2 separate regions of the Homo sapiens genome follow, and region 2 is linked to region 1. The links are contacts of gene promoters, found by promoter capture Hi-C in human tissues and cell types (Jung and others, 2019). All regions are on one chromosome and are shown on one strand. The core of a region is centred on a gene start or on the middle of the fragment in contact, and the rest is flanking DNA. Distances in the headings are between cores, read along the strand shown. Region 1 holds the start of ZNF324B (zinc finger protein 324B). Region 2 holds the start of ZNF211 (zinc finger protein 211).

Region 1 (4,579 bases), core at 33-2,532:
CTGTAGTTCCAGCTACTTGGGAGGCTGAAGTTGGAGGACTGTTTGAGCATGGGAGGCGGAGGTTGCAGTGACCCGAGTATGCACCACTGCACTCCATCCTGGGTAAGAGAGTGAGACCCTGTCTCAAAAAAAAAAAAAAAAAAGTAAAAAAAAATTGCTTGAAATGTTAATAATGCCTCTAAGCATTTGATTAAATCACAATAGTACTTAAGTGTTCTTAAATTCTTTCAAAGCAGGAAAAATTTAAATAAAAACATTCAAAAATTGTCGAGCTATCTTACACTATAGGGATCTACAAGTAGAATCAATTCTGTGGACAGTTATAGCTGACAGTAGACAGATATTTATAGATGGAGGTGGGTATAGAGGAAGACAAAATGAATTAACGTACTTGACATCTGAGAACTGTCTAAGGATCCTAAAAACAAGACCCTCACAGGGAAGCAACAAAGAGAGAATCGTTTATTCTCTGCCAACAACATGGTCAGTCTACATTGAGACTGCCCTGCCTTTTGTTGTTATGTGTCAAAGACACTTAGATTGGTCCAGAGAAAAAAGGAACAAAGCATCCATGTTGTGATGTGTGGGGCAAAGCAAGAACTAGATGGTCTAAGGACAAGCAAGGCTGGGGAATTACCTTCTGCTCGTCCAAGTTACAAGGAAAACAAGTTTTGGGCGAGCGTCCAAGAACAATCACAGAATCAAGACAAATGACAAGCGGGTAGTGTCATTACAGGCTGAGAATTCTTGGTGTAGAGGTTGAAAAACGGACCTTAAACCTTTACGGGACACTGACACACAGAGAGATCAAACCCTCGCCCAGGATGCACAGTCAGTGAGATGCAAAGCTGGGAAGGGAACCCGGAGCTCCAGGCATCTGCTCCTCCACCTACACCTGCCCTACCCGGTGCGTTTTCTCCTCCCTGCTACCTGCTGGTGTTGCCTTCTGGAACCTCCGCAGTTTCTGCTTTCACACCTGCAGGGTTTAGTCTCCAGGGCTGCTTAGGTGGGTGCCAGGAACTGGGAATCCCCAACGCGGGACAACCTGCCGGGCGACTCAACCAGTGCCACGGAGCCCTTGGAAACCCGCGGCAGCTGCGCTACTCCATTTCCAGGCGCCCAGCGCGGCGGCGCTTAGCCGTTGCCATGGAGACTGGTAATGGCCCCGCCTCCGCGCCGAAAAACAGGCAGGAACCACATAACCCAGAAGGCTGTGCGCAAGCGTCTGCGCGCGTATTGGGGCAATGTGAGCTCTGGGGGCTGGACTTCCGGCGTTGGGACTGTCACTTGGCTGCTCGCGTCAGGCCACACCGGTGGTCTGGGCTGTGGCGCGCGGGTCGGGGCCCGAGGCGGGCGGCCAGGAAGGTACGGACCACGAGCAGCCGGCCGCGCCCCCAAGCCTCGGTATCTTCGAGTATGACGTGGTCGGCCCGGGGGCGGTCGGGCCCCGGCGGGAACCACGCGTTCTCCCGCCCCGCGGAAGCCCAGGAGGCAGCGCATTGGGCATTCTGCGCCCATGACTGCCGGGCAGGCTGAGGCGCGGGGCAGCCGCGGGAGGCTGCTGGCGGGGATGGCGGTCCCGGGTGGTCCATGCCTTTCTTCCCTCCCAGTTGCGGGTTCCGCTGGCGGCGGTGGCGCTGACAAGCCCGCGCCGGGGGGGCGGGGGAGTCCCTGCTCACACAGACTGCGCCCCCACGGAGTGAGGCCGCTTCCTAGACCTCGCCTAGTCGTCTTTCCTCTCCCTGCCCTGGGGGGGTTGCGGGGGTCAGTGCAAACTCCTGCGTCCAGGGCACTGGTGAGCTCCCGACTTCCGGCAGCCAGGGGGCTGAGGTCCCGAAGGAGGCTCCGAGGGGAGAGTCCTGCGTGTGCAAAACCTGGGAGGGGAGCCGAAGCCCAGATGCTTCTGGGACTGAGCGCTCTCGATGTGGAGCTGGAGTAGAGGGGATGTGTGCGGCTGCAGTAGCAGGCGAGGGAGTGGGCTTTATCTCGAGGGCGTCGGGAGACATAGAAGTTTTGAACAGAATCAGGACATCCTCTGAGTTGGGACTTTAAAACGGTTCCACCGTTTGTTGCGTGGAGAACAGACATGCAGGGGTGTCGGCATGAAGGGAAGAACCGACTGCCACAGTCTGGGCAGCAGTGGAGGTGGGCGACCAGGTGAATTCTGGTGGATCTGCGGATGCATCAGGTGTGGGCTGTTTGAAGAACTAAGTACCCCATGTTGTTCAGCCTGAGCGCCTGGAAGAAGAGAGCTGCTGTAGATAGAAAGGAGAATTGAAAGGAAAGCAGGTTTCCTTCAGGGGAAAGATCAAGAGTCTGGGATGTCCCAGGTTGGTCATGTCACTGGACCTGACGTTGTTGGTGTCCTGGGCTGAGGACAGGGCCTATAAACTGGACTGAAGAAGGCGATGAGCAGTCAGGCGTGCGGAGTTACAGCTTGAGGGTAAAGAAAACCGGCTGGGGTGCCTGAGGCTATCAGGGGAGGAGTTCGGCAGGTGGCTGAATAGGAGAGGGTGGCAGCAATGTGGGAAAGAAATTGCGGGAGCGCTGAGATCGAGACCATCCTGGCTCACACAGTGAAACCCGGTCTCTACTAAAAATCCAAAAAAATTAGCCAGGTGTGGTGGCGGGAGGCTGAGGCAGGAGAATGGCGTGAACCCGGGAGCCGGAGCTTGCAGTGAGCCGAGATTGCCCCACTGCACTCCAGCCTGGGTGACGGAGTGAGACTCCGTCTCCAAAATAAAAATAAATAAATAAATAAATAAATAAATAAATAAATAAATAAATAAATTGAGGAGGGGGCGCCATGTGGAGGGAGGAAGGGATTGAGTTCCCCTGTGTTCACAGGTTCTTGGGGCTGCACCCCTATGACGACTGGTGGGGATCATCCAGTCCCTCAGGCTGGATGAGCAGCCTGGAAATGTCAGGCAAGCGCAGCAGGGGAAGGTCTCAGTGATGGGCATGCCTGGGGGGTCCACAGCTGGGACTTACACCCTTGCTTATTACAAAAGCAAGAAGGGCACATCTGGGGAGGGTCATGAATGGTCATGCTGAGTCACGAGTGGATATTTGGGGCTGCCCTTGGTGTGGCAGCTAAGGGCCCAGCCAGGGCTTGCTCTAGCCTGCTTGTGTAGGGGTGGCCAGTGGGGAAGTCAAGAAGCCATCTGGGGCCTGGACCAGGAGGGCAGAGGGGAGGGGTCCCAGACAGGTGAGGGAAGTGCCACCTGAAGATAATCTCGGGGTGGAACCCAAGGAAGGAGGGACACTGGGGGAGGTGACTGTTGGGATGGGGAGCTTGGTCCTGGCTCACAGCCATACCTTAGACCATGCCTACCTCCACCTCCCTGCTGTTTTAGGACCTGATGACCTTCGAGGATGTGGCCGTGTACTTCTCCCAGGAGGAGTGGGGGCTCCTGGACACAGCGCAGAGGGCCCTGTACCGCCACGTGATGCTGGAAAACTTCACACTTGTGACCTCACTTGGTAAGGCCCTGGGTGCTCCATGAAAAGTGCACTTGGTGACAATCAGGACTGCCTCTTCACTTCCCTCCTGGTTGATGAGCAGGATCAAATCTGGCCAGGGCCACGTGGAACAAGGGTCTGGTCCTGTAGACACAAAGTTTGGTTGGGTCAGCCACTCCTTGCCGCCCTGTCCAGCTGTGGCCTCTCTCATGCCTGGGCTCAGTCCCGTTGCTTTGGTGCTCTGGGCACAGTTGCTGCTCTGGGGACACATGAGCTATTCCTATGAGCCCCTTGCCCTGTGCTATCTTTAGATTCTCCCAGTTGCACAGATTACTGTCTATTTCCATGAAGCCCTGACTCCTGCTCTCTGTTGGGAGGTGGGTTGTCTTGACCTGGGGCTGGGCTCTCACCTGCTCCTCCTCACAGGACTCTCTACCTCCCGACCTCGTGTGGTCATTCAACTTGAGCGTGGCGAGGAGCCCTGGGTTCCCAGTGGAAAGGACATGACCCTGGCCAGGAACACCTACGGGAGGCTCAACTCTGGTGAGTGGGAGCTCAGGTGGGGTGAACTAAGGACCAACCTGTGGCCAAGCCCATGTCCCTGCTTTTCTGACTCTGGAAACACATCCTCCTCTCCTGCCTCCTACCTGACTCCCTTCTCTTCCATCATCAGCCTCTCCTGGAGGCTGCTGCCTTAGTAGGTGCCCTTGAAGGGAGAGCTCCAAGGGCACAGGAGCTGGGTTCACACAGAAGGGCCTACCTTCAGCTGGGCTGTGTGGCCTTGAACCCTCCACAACTAGCAGCCATTATTGATAGGTATTTATTTCGCCCATCATTTATCTTTGTATTCATCAAATGTTTCCTGAGGGCTTGTGGGCATTGTAGACACAGCCTTGACCAGGACACTCATGGTCCTGCCTTTGTGGGGCTGATGGTGCTAGGGGAGACGCAGTGAGTACGTAGGATTCAGGAGTGCAGTCTTGAGCATTGGTTGGAGGTCATTGCAAGAGCAGGTTTGGGAGTGGGTGCCCAAGACGGGGCACCAGGGGAGAAGGGAGTGAGCTATGGAAAGGGAGGGGGTGGAACAGCCAGTGTGGAGACGTGGGTGGCACGCAGC
Region 2 (4,212 bases), core at 495-2,994, 820 kb before region 1:
CAAATACATTATATATTTGATAAAATCATTTCACAACTTTTAATTTTATTTTATTTTACTGGTATTAATTTGTCCTAAAGGATCATTTTTATTGTGAAACGTAAAATTTGATCTATCTAATATATATAAAATGTATATGTGTACATTTAACAATGTGCATATATGTACCTTAAAATAATATAAACTTTCTGGGCGACGGAGTGAGGCCCTGTTTAAAATAATGATAATAATTTGATATTTTATGCATTAAAAACTTTTGTCTGGGCATGGTGACTCATGCTTGTAATCTCAGCAGTTTGGGAGGCTGAGGCAAGAAGATTGCATGGCCCTAGGAGTTTGAGACTAGCCTGGGCCCTATAGGGAGACTCCATTCCTACAATAATTTTTTTTTTAACTAGCCGGGTGTGGTGGTGTGCTTGTAGTGCCAGCTACTCAAGAGGCTGAGGTGGGAGGATCACTTGAGCCCAGGAAGTGGAGGCTGCAATGAGCTATGATTGTTCCACTGTACTCCAGCCTGGACAACAGAGTGAGACCCTGTCTCAAAAAAAAATTAAATGTTTTGATTATACAAGGAAAATGAACATTCATGTATTAAAGCTTCATGTTTTATGAACAAAACTGACTTTGCAGGCAGGAGAGCGTTTTCTGGGGGCACCAGAAGCAGGGAACTTCCCTTGTCCGTTGGCTTCAGGGCTGCCCACTATCCCTCCACTATCTTCCCATTGTAGCCCTGTCTGGTGTCTTTTGTCCCTGACAAAACCTACAAAAAGTGACTTTAACACTTCAGGCTGCATGCATTTGAAGAGCAATAAGATAACGTTTTTTCGCTTCCCACTACCAGTGGAGATCTGCTGGGGTGGGCTGCATGGAATCTGAAATGATGTCTAAATACTGAAGTGAACCTCTACACTAGAGACTGATATACAGCTGACCCTTAAACGACGCAGGGGTCAGGGATACCGACCCCTGCGGAATTGAAAATGCTTGTATTACTTTTGACTCCCCTAGGTCTTAACTACTAATAGCCAACTGTTGCCCGGAAGCCTTATGAAGTTGCCCGGAAGCCTTATGAATTACATAAACTCCCAGTCGATTAACACATTTTGTATGATATATGCATGATATATGCATAATATATATGATATATGCATTTTGTATGATATATGCATTATATATATTTTAGTATAAGAACTATACTTGTACTAAAACAGACCAGAGAAAGGGTATCAGGAAAATTGTAAGAGGCTCGTTGACATTACACCCAATTAAAAAAAGGAAAATAAAAGAATACGGAAGGGAAAATACATTTACTAATCATTAAGTGGAAGTGGATCATCATAAAGGTCTTCATCCTTGTGTTCTTCATGCTGGGCAAGAGAATGAGGTCTTGCTGTCTCTGGGGCAAGAGGTCGGGGAGCTGGAAGAGGCAGGAAAAGGAGCACACTCGAAGTAACGTTTATTGGGGAAAAAAAACGCCTACGTGTAAATGGACCCGCACAGCTCAAACCTGTGTTGTTCAAGTGTCAACCTACTTAAGACCTCAAACACCGAAGCCCCTCAGTCGCCCTGGAAGGCAGCAGACGCAGCTTCCTAGCGCTCCCAGCTGTCTGCACACAAGGCGCCCTCCGTCGCAGCCTGGGGGAGACTACATTACCCAGAAAGCCTTGCGTCGAGCGGCAGTACTTTGATCCAATGAAAATCCAAGACAGGGGCATTTCCGTGTGGGTCTACCCCCGCCCCCCCCAGGGCGGGACTTGTGGCGTCTTCGCAGCGGTCATTTTGGCTGCCCTCCCGGAGGTCCGTTCTGTCTGTCAGCCGCTTTGGTACGCTGCATCGGGATCGAAGTGACGGACCGTGAAGGCGCGAGAGTCAGGTCTGAGGGTCGGGGGCAGAGCCGCCCGCGAGGCCGGCCTGGGGATAGCGATGCTCGGGTTCCCCCCGGGTCGCCCGCAGCTCCCGGTCCAGCTCCGCCCACAGACTCGGATGGCGACCGCACTGAGGGACCCGGCTTCGGTGAGCGCTGCGATCTCCGGGCCTCCCCCGGCCGAGATTCTTAAGTCCCAAGTGAGAGGCACCAGCTCACGTCTCTGTAGCACAGGGTCGGGGACACTGAGGCTCGTGGGTGGGGCCCCTATTTCTGACATCCGATGTGGTGGGCAGGGGGACAAGGGACAGGACCGGCGCGTGCAGGGCTTGGACGGGCAACCGAGAAGGGGGCATTCAGGAACCTGGGCTCCACATTGTTACTGCAGGGAACAAAGTTTGAGAGAGATCTACCTTTATTCTTAGGGCCGTGGGAGCCATAGAGAGCTTGCGCAAACGAGAGACACCATCTGAGTTAAATTTGAAAAATCCTCTGCAGGCTGTTCAGTGGAAGAAAAGACTTTAGAGATGGATGAGGACGTTGAGGCAGAGGGAGGTTGAATATTTTTCCAAGGCCACACAACTGGTGAGAGGCAGCACTAAGGACCGAGGCGCACAGGTTAGACAGTCGACCCAAAGTTACGTGGCTCTGGGCCGGGGCAAGGGTACAGGGAAGGCCTGTGCCCATGGAGCACTGCCATGATCACATTCCTCTGAGGCCTGCGTCTTTCCACAGGTTCCCATAGCTACAGAGGTGCTTTTCAAACTTACACAGGTAAGTGGAGGTATCTCAGCCCCTCACTGGTCTGGAATGTCCCTCCACCCTCCCCAGACAGATATTTTCTTTAGATTTGTGGTGTCATGGGACTCACCTACCATTCTCTCAGCGTTTGGTTTGGGAACCCTGGAGAATCCCTGAGCTAAGGGCCCTGAGTCCAGGCCAATGTTTCCATTTGGAGCAGCCAATGGAAAGATGGGTGAAAATTTATGATAGAAACAGGTAGGTACCAGCTTTTGGAACTCCTTGGAGGTGAGGCTGAGCTGGTTCAGGGAACTGCAGGTTTCCTTTATTTCTGTGAAGTTTGGCATCTATTGTGAGGAAGTTGGAGTTTGGGATCAGAGGAGGGAGATTTATCTAACCCAAGTGTTGACAGGATACAGAGTGGAAAACAGAATGAACACAGTGACTAATGGGAATGTGAAGAGACAGCAGGGATCAATGACACCAAGGTCTGGTGTCTCTTCTGACTTGGGGATCTTGGGAGGAGAATGTATGGGGACATGGATTTTGAGTCTTCCAAATTGAGACTGTTCATGGTTTCATCAATCCCTATTATGCTAGGGAAGTGTGACCTTTGAAGATGTGGCCGTGTACTTCTCCTGGGAGGAATGGGATCTCCTTGATGAGGCTCAGAAACACCTGTACTTCGATGTGATGCTGGAGAACTTTGCACTTACGTCCTCCCTGGGTAAGGCCCTCATACTCACCCTTGTGCCCTGGACTAGGCTCTCTGTTTCTCCTTTTCCTCAGGAGCAGCTCTGTCCTCATATCTGGACTATAGGCACTGCCTCCTTCCCCAGTTCCCTGGGTAGATGTTGTGGACTGAGTGCAAGCCTACTTCCCTTATCGTCCCAGCCCAAAAGCATCTTGGGTAAGGATTTGGGATCAGTAGTCTTACAGTAAGCCTAATAGATCCCACCTGACTTGCCTTCTCCCTGTCTGGTGACTTTCTAGATCTATGGCACCCAGTTTTCCCTCCCTTCGTGTACCTAACATTTATTTGTGCTAGACTGTGACATGAAATGTAGTCACTGACATTGCCACTATTTACACAGACTGTTCTTCAACCACCAACCTTTCCATTAACAGCAGAACACTCTAACAAATTGTGCCGCAGAGACATTACACAGACTGTTCTTATAGAAACCTCCTTCAAGGTGTTTTTCTTTGTTTTTAATTGTAAAATATATATAACAAAATTTACCATTTTAATCATTTTCAAGTATATAGTTCAGCGCATTTAGTACATTCGCATTATTGTGCAACCATCACCACCATCCTTCTATAGTACTTTTTCATCTTATAAAACTGAAACTTTGTACTCATTAAATAATAACTCTTCCCATCCCCTGGCAACCACCATTTTACTTTTGGTCTGTATGAATTTGTCTACTGTAAGTACCTCATATGAGTGGGATCACACAATATTTGTTCTTTTCTATCTGGCTTACTTCACTTAGCATAATATCTTCAAGATTCATCCATGTTGTAATATATATCAGAATTGCTTCTTTTTAAGGCTGAATAATATTCTTTTGTATGTATTACAGTTTGTTTATCCATTCCTT

The links. The method cuts DNA at HindIII sites, captures the fragments that hold promoters and counts their contacts. A contact is called where the count stands out against the background at its distance.
Region 2: a contact is called between the fragment with the promoter of ZNF211 here and the fragment with the promoter of ZNF324B in region 1, in 1 of the 25 tissues and cell types used here (lymphoblastoid cells).

The regions. Positions count from the first base shown.
Region 1 is chr19:58,450,340-58,454,918 of GRCh38, forward strand. It overlaps ZNF324B (zinc finger protein 324B), which reads left to right and starts at 1,283. Exons shown (of 4, transcript NM_207395.3): 1 at 1,283-1,365; 2 at 3,357-3,483; 3 at 3,889-4,005. The coding sequence starts at 3,363. RefSeq lists silencers at 989-1,315, 1,293-1,722. The HindIII fragment of the contact is 12,073 bases long and covers 1-4,579 here.
Region 2 is chr19:57,631,424-57,635,635 of GRCh38, forward strand. ZNF211 (zinc finger protein 211) reads left to right here and starts at 1,745. Exons shown (of 4, transcript NM_006385.5): 1 at 1,745-2,013; 2 at 2,600-2,638; 3 at 3,206-3,332. The coding sequence starts at 1,924. RefSeq lists enhancers at 1,345-1,434, 1,505-1,554 and a silencer at 1,995-2,064. The HindIII fragment of the contact is 12,794 bases long and covers 1-2,752 here.